3 separate regions of the Homo sapiens genome follow, and regions 2 and 3 are each linked to region 1. Evidence: promoter capture Hi-C in 16 types of primary human blood cells and fetal thymus (Javierre and others, 2016). All regions are on one chromosome and are shown on one strand. Each heading gives the region's core, a stretch centred on a gene start or on the middle of the fragment in contact. The rest is flanking DNA. Distances are from core to core; before and after follow the strand shown.

Region 1 (4,364 bases), core at 1,303-3,802:
CCCGGGAGGCGGAGGTTGCAGTGAGCCAAGATCGTACCACTGTACTCCAGCCTGGCGACAGAGTGAGAATCCGTATCAAAAAAAAAAAAAAAAAAAAAATCTGTTTCTCATGAGGCAAAGAGAATCTGAGAACAACAGTCTTCTGAAATAGAAACAGGGACTGGGGGGAAAGGATGTGAGTTTTGTGTGTGATAGTCATAACGCATCACCCAGACCTGAGAGGTGACAATCCTGTGCTATACCATGACCTTTACTCAACTTTAATTTAAAGATTTCCACAGCCTCATCATCTTTTATGGACACGTTGCCAGTAGCCTGATAACTGGGTCTTGCAAGCACTTAGAGATCTCAAGAGTTTGTGTGTGAAGAAAAATAATCTCTAGTGATGCTTCCCACTGCCAACACACATGAACATTTAACACAAATAAGCTGCCACTTGTAAGAAGTCCACTTGACATCAATCCCTCGTGCATCCTGAAGACACCTGTCAAGATCACACTAAGATATTTAGAAGCAAACATCTTTAGAATAATGTTTTGTTCCCAAAGTGCTTAATTAGCAGAAACATTATGCTAGGGAACTGTCCTTGAATATGTACGCATTTTAACCTTCATGTTATTTTTTCTGAAGCACAAAATTTCCTCTCAGTGGATGGTCAGGAAATGATTGGGCACAGAAAACCAACCATCTGAAGTGTTGATTCATAAAATGAGTTCCATCTTTCCACGCAGGCTTCAGCTGCCTTCCAGGGTGACATCCCTTTTTATGAGGGGGACCATTCTTTGGCATCTAATGGCCTTTTCTCCATTCATTTGGGATGACCAATGCACCTATGGCCTACTTATGTCTGAACTCTTTCAATACCACCAACCTCTTCTGTCCCCTTGTGCCATCTTCCCACCCCCAATTTCAGCCAATTATGTTTATAAGACATCAGTTAGTGAATCACAATTCAAATGAATCCACCTATTTGCTTAGCAGCAAGTGGCCCCCGGAGTTGCTCCATTTGAAGCCCATAGGCCAGAGTTACATACGGCAGGCTTGCAAATGAGAACAGGATATGATTTATTTATGACGACCATATGTGTTTGATGCCCAATTGCAGCAGGTTGTGGCTTCTCTTGCATATCTTGGTCTGGGATGACCTATCTACTCAGTGTGTCCCATTTCAGGTACCGTATTTCCATGCTGGGAAAAGAGAGATGATGACTGCTGAGGGGCTGCACATACAGATGCTCCTAACCCTGCTTGCCACATAACAATCTGTGACCAAATGCAAAGTGGGCCAAATGTAACTTGCTGCAAAGGTTTGCCATGTACAATGGTTTTCAGTGGTGAGTGGAGAAGTAGCTGCTGGAATGACTGACCATGTGGGGTTCATTAAGCTGTTGTGCATTCACCCACGAGAAAGGCTGGGATGCTTGTGAAGGGAACTCCACTCTTCATTTCAGAAATTTTAACGCCCCACCATTTGGCAATGATGCTCCCAAGGAGAATGGCAGATATGCATCAGAAGGTTCAAACGTGGAGTCCAACTGAAGTGCAGTAAACTTCTGCCTTCAACAGTCTCACCCCCCTTTACCCCCCCCCCAGTTGTATTTATACTTTGAAAGAAGTTAACATGAAGCAGTAGTCACCTGGGCGTGCTCAATTTTTGACAAGCCTTAGTCACTCTGTACCCAGCAGAACAATTCACATTATATTCGAAATCCTGTGAAGATTCTGCCACACATGCTAACACTAAAATGCCAGTAGCTCCACTTACCTTCTTTATTAAGCCTCATAACCTCCCTGCTTTTTCCACCCTCTTTTCCAGCCTCTTCTAAATCTACATCTGCAGATGAAAAAGAAAAGGAAAACAGAAAATAAGGAAAAAAGGGGGGAAAAAAGCCAAAGTCAAGGGGGGAGGGAGAGTGTTTATTTGCAAACAGATCGATATAAATACTGTATATGAAATTCTTTCAAAAATTGACAATGCAACATTTTCTCCCAAGTCTGGGTTTCCATCTACCTGGCCCAGATAGGTACCCAAAAAACTATGCAAGCAGCAACAAAGTAGCCTTTTAAACGGACAACACCGTGGGGCTGCGAGCCCACCCCGCGGGCTGCCACGGGGAGCCGGGCACAGACAGACAGACAGCCCTGGCAGCCGGGCCTCTCCCTGTGCATTGATGATCTGTCTCTGTGTGTATTTATTTAGAGAGAGAGGGAGAAGCATGGAGGACACCGGGGGCCACTCTCTCTCTCACACACACACTTTTTCCCAGTGGCTCTAGGTGAATGGAAAGGTTACAGGATAATAAAAGGAGGAGGAGGTGGTGGGGTTCTTACTGTCGGAGCAGTGTAATTTGGCGGCGTCGATCCAGGAGGACCAGGGTTTGCCCAGAAACGCCTCCGGACTGGGCACTTTGCGATCCAGTGTCGCCATTGCTCTTCCTTCTTGTTGCTTTTTCCCTGTTCCTTCGGCAGCAGCAGCCGAGAGACACGGGATTCGAGAACGCTCCGACGTCATCTTCGGAACGTTCCGACATTGAGTGTTCTGAAAGGGGGAGGGAGGGAGGAAGGGCGGGATGGGAGGAGGGCGGCGGAGGAGGAGGGGAGAGGGAGCGGAGGAGGGGCGGGCGCTCGGGCTCCCGGAGCCGGCTCGGTGGGGCTCGCGCGCCCGCGGCCGCCAGGGGCAGCAGAGAGGCACCTGCAGTCCGCGCCCGCCCGCCCGCCGGGGCCGCCCGCCTGCCGGGGAGGGGCAGCGCGGACGGGCGAGCGCCGCGTGCGGGAGAGCGAAGGCTGCAGCGCGCCCGGCAGCCGGGATGCAGCGGCGCCGCCCAAGCCTGGGGCGCAGGGGTCGGGGCACACGGGGATAGGCCCGACGCGGGGCCGAAGGAAGGGTGGTCTTTCCCGCAGAGTTGCCGCTGGAGGACCGAAAGTTTTGCAGGCAGCCCTTGCTTCCAGCTTGTCGCTCTCTCCCCGCGTCCCTGTCGCCCAACGCGAGGCGCCCCCGCTGGGGTCCCGACGGCTTGGTGGGGAGGAGCCGTGAGGGGTTGCGCCCCCCACCCCCACCCGAGCCAGGGAAGGGACCCTGGTGACCTCGCCTCCCAGCCCTCACCCCCGTCACCCCTTTCTTCTCTTTCCTGGAGGACTTTGGACCATGGAGATTCTGCAGTTGTTGCTCTAGGAGCTGAAACCAGTGGGTAGATGTCGTTCTGAAACGCAGGTGAGTTTGGAGCGCTACGAGCTACCTTCCCATCTCAGGCTGCGGGGCGTGCAAAACTCAAAAGTTAGGGCCCCCGGACCCCCGGGTTCCCCGCGCGGTGCGTATCTCCGGCTCTCAGAGAACCACTGCATGGACTTTGCTCCAGGGTCAGCAGAGCGGGAGGGCGAATTTACGGCTCTTGGAAGACGACGCTAACGGGCCTAGCCCCTGAGCCGTTTCCAGCGCTCCCTGCCGTGAGACGAGGGTGGCCCGGGTTTGCGCAGGCAACCTTTGGCCAGGAATCTGATTCCTGGGAGAATTCACTTCAGGCTTAACTGCTCTAGCCAGCTAGAAAGGGAGCGCTAGATTTCCTCTGGATTTTGGACGTTGGGTGCTTTAGTTGAGATTTTCACCCTTTAAAGAAGGCTTTAAAAAGTCTTCTGTTACTTCTTTTTAACAAATCCTTTTGTTTACTAGAATTATCTAAACTATATGGACACCGCCCTCACCCCACAAGCGACATATTTTTTTTTCTCTTTCGCCAGCACCCTTTTAGCTCTCACCACTGCTGTTTCCCAAGTTGTCACAGCTGAAGCGCACTGATTGGAAGTTGCTTTGTACTGACTGAGTTCTGCCCTGGCTGAACCATCTAATAATTTCCCTGAGCTTGGCACCCTGTATCGCTAAGCCAGTGTTAGGATGGGCGATGAAGGAGGAGCTGCGGATTTGCCTTTAGTTGTGATGTTTGTGTGAGTCGGCTTGTTTGTGTCAGACTCAGATAAACTGCATTTGCCTTTGCTCTCTTTCGAAGGGCTCCTACATAGCTAAGGTGTCGCTGGGTGAAGAATTCCCATTGTAAGAATTGGTGGTGTTAACAAATATGTATTACTTGTTGACCTCTTGTTATATGCTAGACCCTGGGCTTGACATTTCCTTCCTTCCTTCCTTCCTTCCATCTGTCCATCTTAAGTCAACCAATATTGCCTGTCATGGAACAGCTGTGCCCTCCTGTCAGGAGGGAAAGATGAGTGAGACCCATCCTCACCCTCACAGAGATGCAGTCTGGTGGTCTCTGGAAGAAGGAAGTTGTGAAACTTACCGATTCCTTGGGAAAACAGGCAGGTACACAGGGACTGGCCTGTGCAGTGGGTGGGGTGGTCTCTCAGCTGTGCCA
Region 2 (4,721 bases), core at 1,356-3,855, 130 kb before region 1:
CATTTTAAAAAATGGGTTCAAATCCCATTTTTAATGGCAAAAACCACAATTACGTTTGCACCAACCTAAGAGAAATGCCCCACCCCAGACCCATGGAAGAAGAACCTATATTTTAACAAGATCCTCAGGTGAGTTGCATGTACCCTAAAGTTTGAGAAGCACGCCCAGAAGGCCAGACATTCAGGCCCACCTCCATAGACTGTGGCTTAGTTGGTTTGGGGTGGGGCTAGCCAGGGCAACCACATTTTCAAAAACTTTTACAGTTAATTTTACCTTGCAGTCTGGGCCAGAACCACTGCCTTGCTCTTCTCTAGAAACTGGTGGAGTGAAAAGATGGAGGAGGGCAAGGGATGGAGAATCCCACTTCTGTCACTAATGAGCTATGTGACCTTGGGCATGTCATTCAATATCAAATGAAGAAAGTAGATTAGATCAGAGGTTCATGAAACTCAGAATCAGAAAATACACATTCCTGGATCAAGTGAATTATAATTCCCAGCACTGGGCCTGAGGAATCAGCGTTTTCAACAAGTTCCCTAGGGATCCTTGTGTAGCCGCCTGGCCCTGGTATTGGGGATCAGTCGGCAACATGACCTCTAGGTCTTTTCCTCTACTATTCCATGATCTTAGAGAAGGAGAATTTTGCCCCAGGTTCTAAAAGCAATGATAAATATGTGTTGGTATAGGTTCAAACATTTCATTTAAACATTCAACAGTTCAAACATTTTTGACTGCACTGGAACCTGCTGTAAGAAATATAAGTACTTTTCATGAAGACTATATACTGTATATATAGCTCCACACCTTTCCCTTACTGTGATCCACTCTGTTTCCTTCTTTTATTTTCAAATGTACCACTCTGCTGATTTCATGATACACTAGTGGGTTGAGATAATTTGTAAAACCTGGTGCAGACAATCTCTGAATCAAGAACAAAGTCAGGGCCAGAAAGCCAGAATCTGTGTCACCTAGCAGAGGCCAGACAGCACCATGCTGACCTGTCCAACCCATAAGGAACCCAAGGGGCAGCTGATCACAACATGTGAAACTACAACAAAGGGACACTGGTTGGGAAAGCTGGAAAGGAGAAGAGAGGTTAGTGGAAGGCTCAAGACTCCAGGCTGAGGAGTTTAGTGACGATCACAGAGGCAATGTGCACTCTCTGGGGCTTCCAGAACAGGCAAGATCCACAAAGCATTTACAGCAGTGGTTCTCAACACTAGAAATACATCAAATTGCTTGGAAAGCACTCACAAAATACCAGTATCCACTCCCAGAGATGCTAAACCGCTAACCCAAAGTTCTCCCAAGTGAATGGACTATGTAGCTGGGATGGAAAAACCACTGATCCAAGAGTTAGTTAAAGAGGCAGGGTGACGTAACACAAGAAATGTGGGCTTTGGGGTCTCTTAATTTCTCTGAAGTTTCCTGTGGATGAAATGGGCATAACAACATCCACCTTAGCAGCTTGTTGTGAGGATTAGAGAGGAAGTTACATACACACAGCAGCTGCTCAGTCAAAGGTGGCTCCATTCATTTTTTTTTTTTTTTAATGGAGTCTCACTCTGTCGCCCAGGCTGGAGTGCGGTGGTGCGATCTTGGCTCACTGGAAGCTCCGCCTCCCGGGTTCAAGCCATTCTCCTGCCTCAGCCTCCTGAGTAGCTGGGACTACAGGCGCCCGCCACCACGCCTGGCTAATTTTTTGTATTTTTAGTAGAGATGGGTTTTCACCATGTTAGCCAGGATGGTCTCGATCTCCTGACCTCGTGATCTGCCCGCCTCGGCCTCCCAAAGTGCTGGGATTACACGCGTGAGCCACCGCACCCGGCGGTTGCTCCATTCTTAAGCCTTCCTCAGGACCAGTGAGAACCCTAAGCCCCAGAAAGGCAGGTCCAAGTTCACGCGGCTGGGCTGCAGCAGAGTGGGGATGTGCGGAGGCTCAGCTCTAGATGTGAATTCTTTGGCACTGTGGGCCTCCTCTCAGGACAGAACAGAGCTCAGGGAGGGTCTTGTGTATCAGGCTCATCTAAATCCAACTCAAATGACCTCAAATGGCCATTTCTCTCCTTCCCCCACTGAACTTCTGTCAGAGCACTGGGCCAACAGAGAGTCTGTCACACAAAATAAAGCCTTAGTTTTCTTTACCCAATAACCAGGTCATATCCTCTCCCTAAACATTATACAAGCTTGCCTTTCAACAGGATAGTGTTTGATTTTGACACATTTGAGCTTGACGTTCTTTTCTCATAGAAGTATCAGTACGATGCCTCCGTGGTGAAAATGCAGTCGAAGAATGATTTTTCAGCCCGTGTGGAAGGTGAGTGGGATGGGAAGAGAGGGGTGATGGATCGGCCAGCTGGAAGGCAGTGTCAGCAATTCAGACATGGGTGGAGGAATTGTGAGTTTTATGGGTTCTCTCCCTAAAAGATGTTGAAGTCCTAAACACTAGCACCTGTGAACGTGACCTTATTTGGAAATAGAGTCTTTGCAAATGACCAAATTAAGACAAGGTCATGAGGGTGGGCCCTAATGTAATCTGACTGTGTCATTACAGAGGGAACTCTGGACATAGAGAGTGACATGCACAGCGAGAGCACCTGGTGAAGATGAAAGCTGAGATGGGGGTGAGGCATCTACAAGCCAAGGAATGCCCAAGCCTTCCAGCAAACCACCAGAAGCCAGGAGAGAGGCAGGGAGCAGATTCTCTCTCGCAGCCCTCAGAAGGGACCAATCCTGCTGACATGTTGATCTTGGACTTCCTGCCTCCAGAACTGTGAGATACATTTCTGTCACTTAAGATATCCAGATTGTGGCACTTTGTTATGGTAGCCCTCGCAAACTAATGCAGTGGTGTCAGATCCTTGTTCAAAGGACACATTGTCACGAACAGAGGCAAAGAGCCCCAACTGTCTCCTTTCAAGAGCTAGAACTTCAGAAGAGTAAGCATGCTCTGTCCTACAGGTGACTCTTAACCCGCAGTTGAGATGCCTGGCTTTATCTTCTGCAGAGATCTAGCCTTGAAATAAAGCTTGTGATCTAATTTCAAGACTACCAGCCTTTTTGTTGGTGTTCTCAAATATGCCTGCATCGGAGCAATAACCAGTGGCAATTTTCATATGGACTCTCTCATCAGTACAATAGGCAATAACCCTTACCTCAAGCTTAACATATGTGAGGCATTTGCCTTTTGTACATGAATCCACCCAATTTTCACAACCACCCTATTATGTGTGTACTATGCTTATGCTCATTTTACAGAAGAGAAAACTGAGTGAGACACATAAAGGTAGAGTGAGACACACAGAGGTAGAGCAACTTTCCCAAGGCTGCACAACTAGAAATGTTGGAGCTGGGATGGGGATGCAGGCAATTTGGTTCCAGAGTCTGTGTCCTTCTACACTACAAAAATGGCTACCACATGCTGAGGGCTTACTCTGGGCAGGCACTTTCCAAACACTGACATTATTAATCCATTTTACACGCACAACCATTTAGCTAAGCTTGCAGACTGTTTATTTTCCATATTCATACTTCCAGGGAAGCTATTTTAATTTTAAACATAAGATGGCCAGCCATTACCCCCACTTCCCAAACACATACGCACAGCCTGGGCCCTCCTCCAAAACAGGTCACTGGCTGGGGATCCTATAGCTTCCCTTGACGAGTATCTTCCAGCATCCCACGATTCACCTCTCCCCCTCTCAACATGCTTATGCCCTCCCCAACTTCCAGTCCTTATCTCCCCAGCCAAAATCAGGAAGTGATTCTTTGTGGGCAGCCCAACCTCTGAAGGTCAAGCTCATTGCTTTTCAAATTAGAATTTGAAGGGTCTTTTCCTCTCCTGGTCAGAGATGAGTGGGAGCTGTCAGATCTGGCCTCCCAGCTTCTGTAATTGATTTATATTTTGGTATAAAATAACTCTTGATTTTACTGAGGGAGTCAGAGGAGGGGAAGAGGTACAGGGGATCCACACGGAGGCAAAGAACAGACAGAAAATAAAGGAGAAGAAGAAAAACCAAGAATGATTACATATCTGTGCCAAGAACTGGGGCCAGGTACTCAGCACATTGCTCCTATTGCCAACAGCTGAGAGCGGTTAGGCAGTGTGTGGCAGGAAGCTGGATTGGAACCCAGTACTCCTTCAGCTGCACCTGAGTAAGAGTCCCAGGGAGGCTGCCGGCTGGCTCACTGTCTCTGACAAGCAGCAAGTCTTCTTCAGGAGAATTCTCGGTTGCATAAGGAGGCAGTTTACAGGACTCTAACAATCACTGTCACCTCTGGAAAGTCAAGGAAGGGAGCTCTCCAAGGTTCCCTGTGCCACTCAGGGCGACACTGAGAAAGCAGATATGATCGCTTTAGAAGTCCGTGACTATGCTGAATGTTACATAGCTGCATTGCAGCAGCCTAGGAGGTGGCCACACTCATGTGGCCTTCTTGGACCTTCTGACCCACCAGCCATAAATGCTAACAATGCCAAATGCGGCACAGCTTCCTTTCAGAATCAGTCAGCAAGACACCCTGTGGTTCATGCTTCCCTCCAAATCTGCTTGCTAACTTATGAGGAAATAGATCTTTCCGCCTCAGTAACAACAAAATTGGTCTTTGCATCTGCGAAAATTATGCTCTAGATGACAGCAATCCTGAACATTAATCAAGTATCAATCACTGACATGAGTGGAAAATGGAGCTGGCGTCTTTATTTAAGTCTTGTTTTGAGCAAA
Region 3 (4,219 bases), core at 779-3,278, 230 kb before region 1:
AGAATATGGCTTTTACATTCCTGCAGACAATGTAGGGCAGGAAAGAGGGGCTGTTTTTGGCAGGAAAAGAATCTTATCTGTCCACATGGCTGGCTGGCTGGCTCTCCTTTCTCTAAGATTCATTCACAGATTATTTCTTTGATCAACTTGTTCATGAAATTATTTTAGCCCCCTCTCAGCCCCTGCCCCTTTTATGACTCTGAAATAGGATCCCAGCTGTTTGTTACAGATCTTTGCCAGCGAGAAGGGCACAGAGCAGCGGAACAGATTGTGGCTGGACATTACCGACTTCTCCCTTGGACCACGTAGCTTCTTGGCCTGGGGAAGGGTGACCTGGGGCTTCAAGTCCCATGTGAGGGGAAACTAGAATGACAGTTTTTTGTAACAAACCCTGCCACTGCCAATTCCGTCCCTGATCAGAGTGTCTCAATGTCTGAGATAGAGCTGAACTGCTGCTCCTTTCTATTTAATGGCAATTCTCAAAGCACTCCCATATCACTGAAGAATGGCACAAGAAACCCTTTGAGAGTGAGCACACCAAGATGCTAGACAGGTATTACCTGGTGAAATTAGTGCTGCATTCCTGATTTTTCCCAAATGATAAAAAGATGCAAAGCAATGTGATACAGAATTCTTCTAGGCTTATTCCTTGACACATTTAAAAAGCCACAAGTTAAGAAATCAGGGTCCTGAAGAGAGATCTGTACACCCATGTTCATAGCAGCGTTATTCACAATAGCCAAAGGTGGAGGCAGCCCAAGTGTCCATCAATGGATGAATGGATAAGCAAAATGTAGCATCATTCAGCTTTAAAAAGGAAGGAAATTCTGACACGGGCAGGAGCCTTGAAGACATTATGTTAAGTGAAATAAGCCTGTCACAAAAGACAAATACTGTATAATTCCACTTATATGAGGTACCTGGAGTAGTCAAATTCATAGAGACAGAAAGCAGAGCAGTGGTTGCCAGGGGATGGGGAAGGGAGAATGGGCAGTTTTTTTTAATGCCCGTTGAACAACTGTATAGAGTTTCAGTTTTGCAAGATGGAAAAAAAAGTTCTGGAGATTGGTTGCACAACAGTGTGAATGTACTTAATACTACTGAAATGTACATTAAAAACGGTTAATATGGTAAATTTTATGTTATGCTTATTTTACCACAATTAAAAATGTTTTACATGTACAAACTAAAAAAAAATGCAAATTACAAAACTCTTACAACCTAAATTATACTTCAATAAACCTGACTTTAAAAATACAGATCAGAGGCTGGGCTCAGTGGCTCACACCTGTAATCCCAGCACTTTGGGAGGCTGAGGCGGGTGGATCACCTGAGGTCAGGAGTTCAAGAGCAGCCTGGCCAACATGGTGAAACCCCGTCTCTACTAAAAATACAGAAATTGGCCACACGTGGTGGCTCACGCCTGTAATCCCAGCACTTTGGGAGGCCGAGGCAGGTGGATCACCAGGTCAGGAGATCAAGACCATCCTGGCTAACATGGTGAAACCCTGTCTCTGCTAAAAATCCAAAAAAAAAAAAAAAAAGAAAAATTAGCCAGGCGTGGCAGCGGGCGCCTGTAGTCCCAGCTACTCCAGAGGCTGAGGCAGGAGAATGGCGTGAACCCAGGAGGCAGAGCTTACAGTGAGCCGAGATAGTGCCACTGCACTCCAGCCTGGGAGACAGAGTGAGACGCCACCACAAACAAACAAACAAACAAACAAACAAACAAACAAACAAACAGAAATTAGCCAGGGGTGGTGGTGCATGCCTGTAATCCCAGCTACTCAGGAGGCTAAGGTGGGAGAATCACTTGAACCCAGGAGGCAGAGGTTGCAGTGCACTGAGATCATGCCACTGTACTCCCACCCGGGCGACAGAGCGAGTCTCTGTCTCAAAAAAAAAAAAAAAGTGTCAGTGGCCAGTTGTGGTGGCTCATGCCTATAATCCTAGCTCTTTGGGAGGCTGAGGTGGGAGGATTGCTTGAGCCTAGGAGTTTGAGACCAGCCCGGGCAACATAGCGAGACCATTCTCTACAAAATAGAAATAAAAATTAGCCAGGCATGGTGGCATGTGCCTGTAGTCCTAGTTACTTGGGAGGCTGCAGGTGGATCGCTTGAGCTCAAGAGTTTGAGGTTACAGTGAGCTAGGATCATGCTATTGCACAGAGCAAGACCCTGTCTCAACTCCCCCCTGACCCCACTGGCACCCCCCAAACCCAAACATATTGGCCAGGTATGGTGGCTCATGTCTGTAGTCCTAGGATTTTGGGGGGCCAGGGTGAGAGGATTGCTTGAGGCCAGGTGTTTTTTTGTTTTGTTTTGTTTTTGAGACAGTGTCTCTGTCACCCAGGTTGGAGTGCAGTGGCACAATCTCGGCTCACTGCAACCTCGGCCTCTTGGGTTCAAGTGATTCTCCTGTCTCAGCCTCCCAAGTAACTGGGATTATAGGCACCCGCCACCACACTTGGCTAATTTTTGTACTTTTAGTAGAGATGGGGTTTCACCATGTTGGCCAGGCTGGTCTCAAACTCGTGACCTCAGGTGATCTGCCTGCCTCAGCCTCTAAAAGTGCTGGGATTACAGGCATGAGCCACTGCTCCCAGCCGAGGCCAGGTATTTGAGACCAGCCTGGACAACACCGTGAGACCATGTCTCTACAAAAAAAAAAAAAAAAATTATAAATAAGCTGGGCACGTTGGTGGACACACACAGTACCAGCTACATGAGAGGCTGAGGTAGGAGAGTCACTTGAACCCAGGAGTTTGGGGCTGCAGAGAGCTAGGATTGTGCCACTGTACTCCAGCTTGGGTGACACAGTGAGACCCTGTCTTGGAAAAAAAAAAAATTAGAAGAATCTGTTCTGTTCAAAAAGATTTATTGATTTAATTTCTCACCCTTGTTCTGATCTGTTGACTTTTATTTCTTTAGGGAAAAAAATCAAACTTCAAGTGTTGATATGAACACATGGACAGCTAGCAAGAAGAGAAGGTGCTCTAGTACCTGGGCAGCCTTCTCTGATGTATTAATATTTCTTTGTGAAGCCAAGTTAGTTCAGGAAAGGAAATTAGAACTTGCAAGTTCCAGATCTAGTTCTTGTTGCATGAGCTGGTACGAGTTAACATAACGCCTCTAGTTTCTGTGAAAAATGCCCTATGTAGATGTTAGGTCCTCAGGCCTTCAGCAGACAAAGATATGATGCCTGGGATAGAATAATCCAGAGCAATTGTACAAATGGAAATACATTTAAAAAACCGGCTGGGTACGGTGACTCACGCCAGTAATCCCAGCACTTTGGGAGGCTGAGGCGAGTGGATCACCTGAGGTCAGGAGTTCAAGACCAGCCTGACCAACATGGTGATACCCCGTCTCTACTAAAAATACAAAATTAGCCGGGCGCGGTGGCACATGCCTGTAATCCCAGCTATTTGGGAGGCTGAGGCAGGAGAATCGCTTATACCTGGGAGACGGAGGTTGCAGTGAGCTGAGATGGCGCCATTGCACTCCAGCTTGGCAACAGAGCGAGACTCCGTCTCAAAAACAAACAAACAGCAAAAACAAGCCAAGCAGCCCTCAAATGCTCATAGCACAGTCTGCATTACTCCTCTAAAGTCAACGTCAGGCTCTGAATGTGCTCCTTAAGGCAGCCCCACGAGCACAGGTGCACCAGGTCCCAACATTTGGAACCGTGCCAGTTGACTCATCTCTTTGGTGACACTTCTTCCCAACTGTGTGTAACTGAGCTTGGGCCAGGCCAGCTAATGTCTGTGACTGTCTCCTAATTTGGAATTTTTTCTGCTTTATAATGAGTGTGGCCCAATCATACTCTACTGTCAATGATTCCAGAACTCAGCTGGATGCGAAATTGGAGCCCATCAGAAACAGGAAAGACAGCCTCACGTGCAGTCCTCTGGATTGAAGAATGGGAAGCATTGGGGAAAAAAGTCTGATCAAGAATGTTTCAAAGATTTCAAAGACCAGGTGAGTTGGTAAGGGGCTGGGCCACTGAGTGAACACCTCTGATGTGAGGTAAAAGGACTTGGCAGAAGGAGAGAAGGGAGACTGCGCTCTTTTGGGTGTGTTCTAAGGGTGTTCATTAGCTAATGGAGAAGGGCTTAGAAGAGTGAAGGAGAAGAACCTAGAGCTGTCCCTGATACTTTTTTCTTTGGTGTCCCTTCTCTCCCTCAAAAGCTTTGGGCTTTCTCTCTAAGGGAACCTGCCTT

What was found. The method cuts DNA at HindIII sites, captures the fragments that hold promoters and counts their contacts. A CHiCAGO score of 5 or more calls a contact.
Region 2: a fragment that was not itself captured here is called in contact with the fragment with the promoter of ATXN7L1 in region 1 in 1 of 17 cell types (non-activated CD4 T cells); the score reaches 6.5 in non-activated CD4 T cells.
Region 3: a fragment that was not itself captured here is called in contact with the fragment with the promoter of ATXN7L1 in region 1 in 3 of 17 cell types (naive CD8 T cells, non-activated CD4 T cells and naive CD4 T cells); the score reaches 6.4 in naive CD8 T cells.

What each region holds. Positions count from the first base shown.
Region 1 is chr7:105,874,047-105,878,410 of GRCh38, forward strand. It overlaps ATXN7L1 (ataxin 7 like 1), which reads right to left and starts at 2,553. Exons shown (of 12, transcript NM_020725.2): 1 at 2,332-2,553; 2 at 1,766-1,834. The coding sequence starts at 2,512. RefSeq lists a silencer at 2,596-2,805. The HindIII fragment of the contact is 13,815 bases long and covers 1-4,364 here.
Region 2 is chr7:105,739,234-105,743,954 of GRCh38, forward strand. The region is part of intron 3 of ATXN7L1 (ataxin 7 like 1); the gene reads right to left. Among named protein-coding and RNA genes, the nearest start is that of ATXN7L1, 140 kb to the right of the region's middle. The HindIII fragment of the contact is 842 bases long and covers 2,185-3,026 here.
Region 3 is chr7:105,644,114-105,648,332 of GRCh38, forward strand. All of the region lies in intron 4 of ATXN7L1 (ataxin 7 like 1), which reads right to left. Among named protein-coding and RNA genes, the nearest start is that of EFCAB10, 65 kb to the left of the region's middle. RefSeq lists a silencer at 3,842-4,058 and an enhancer at 4,069-4,219. The HindIII fragment of the contact is 4,314 bases long and covers 1-4,185 here.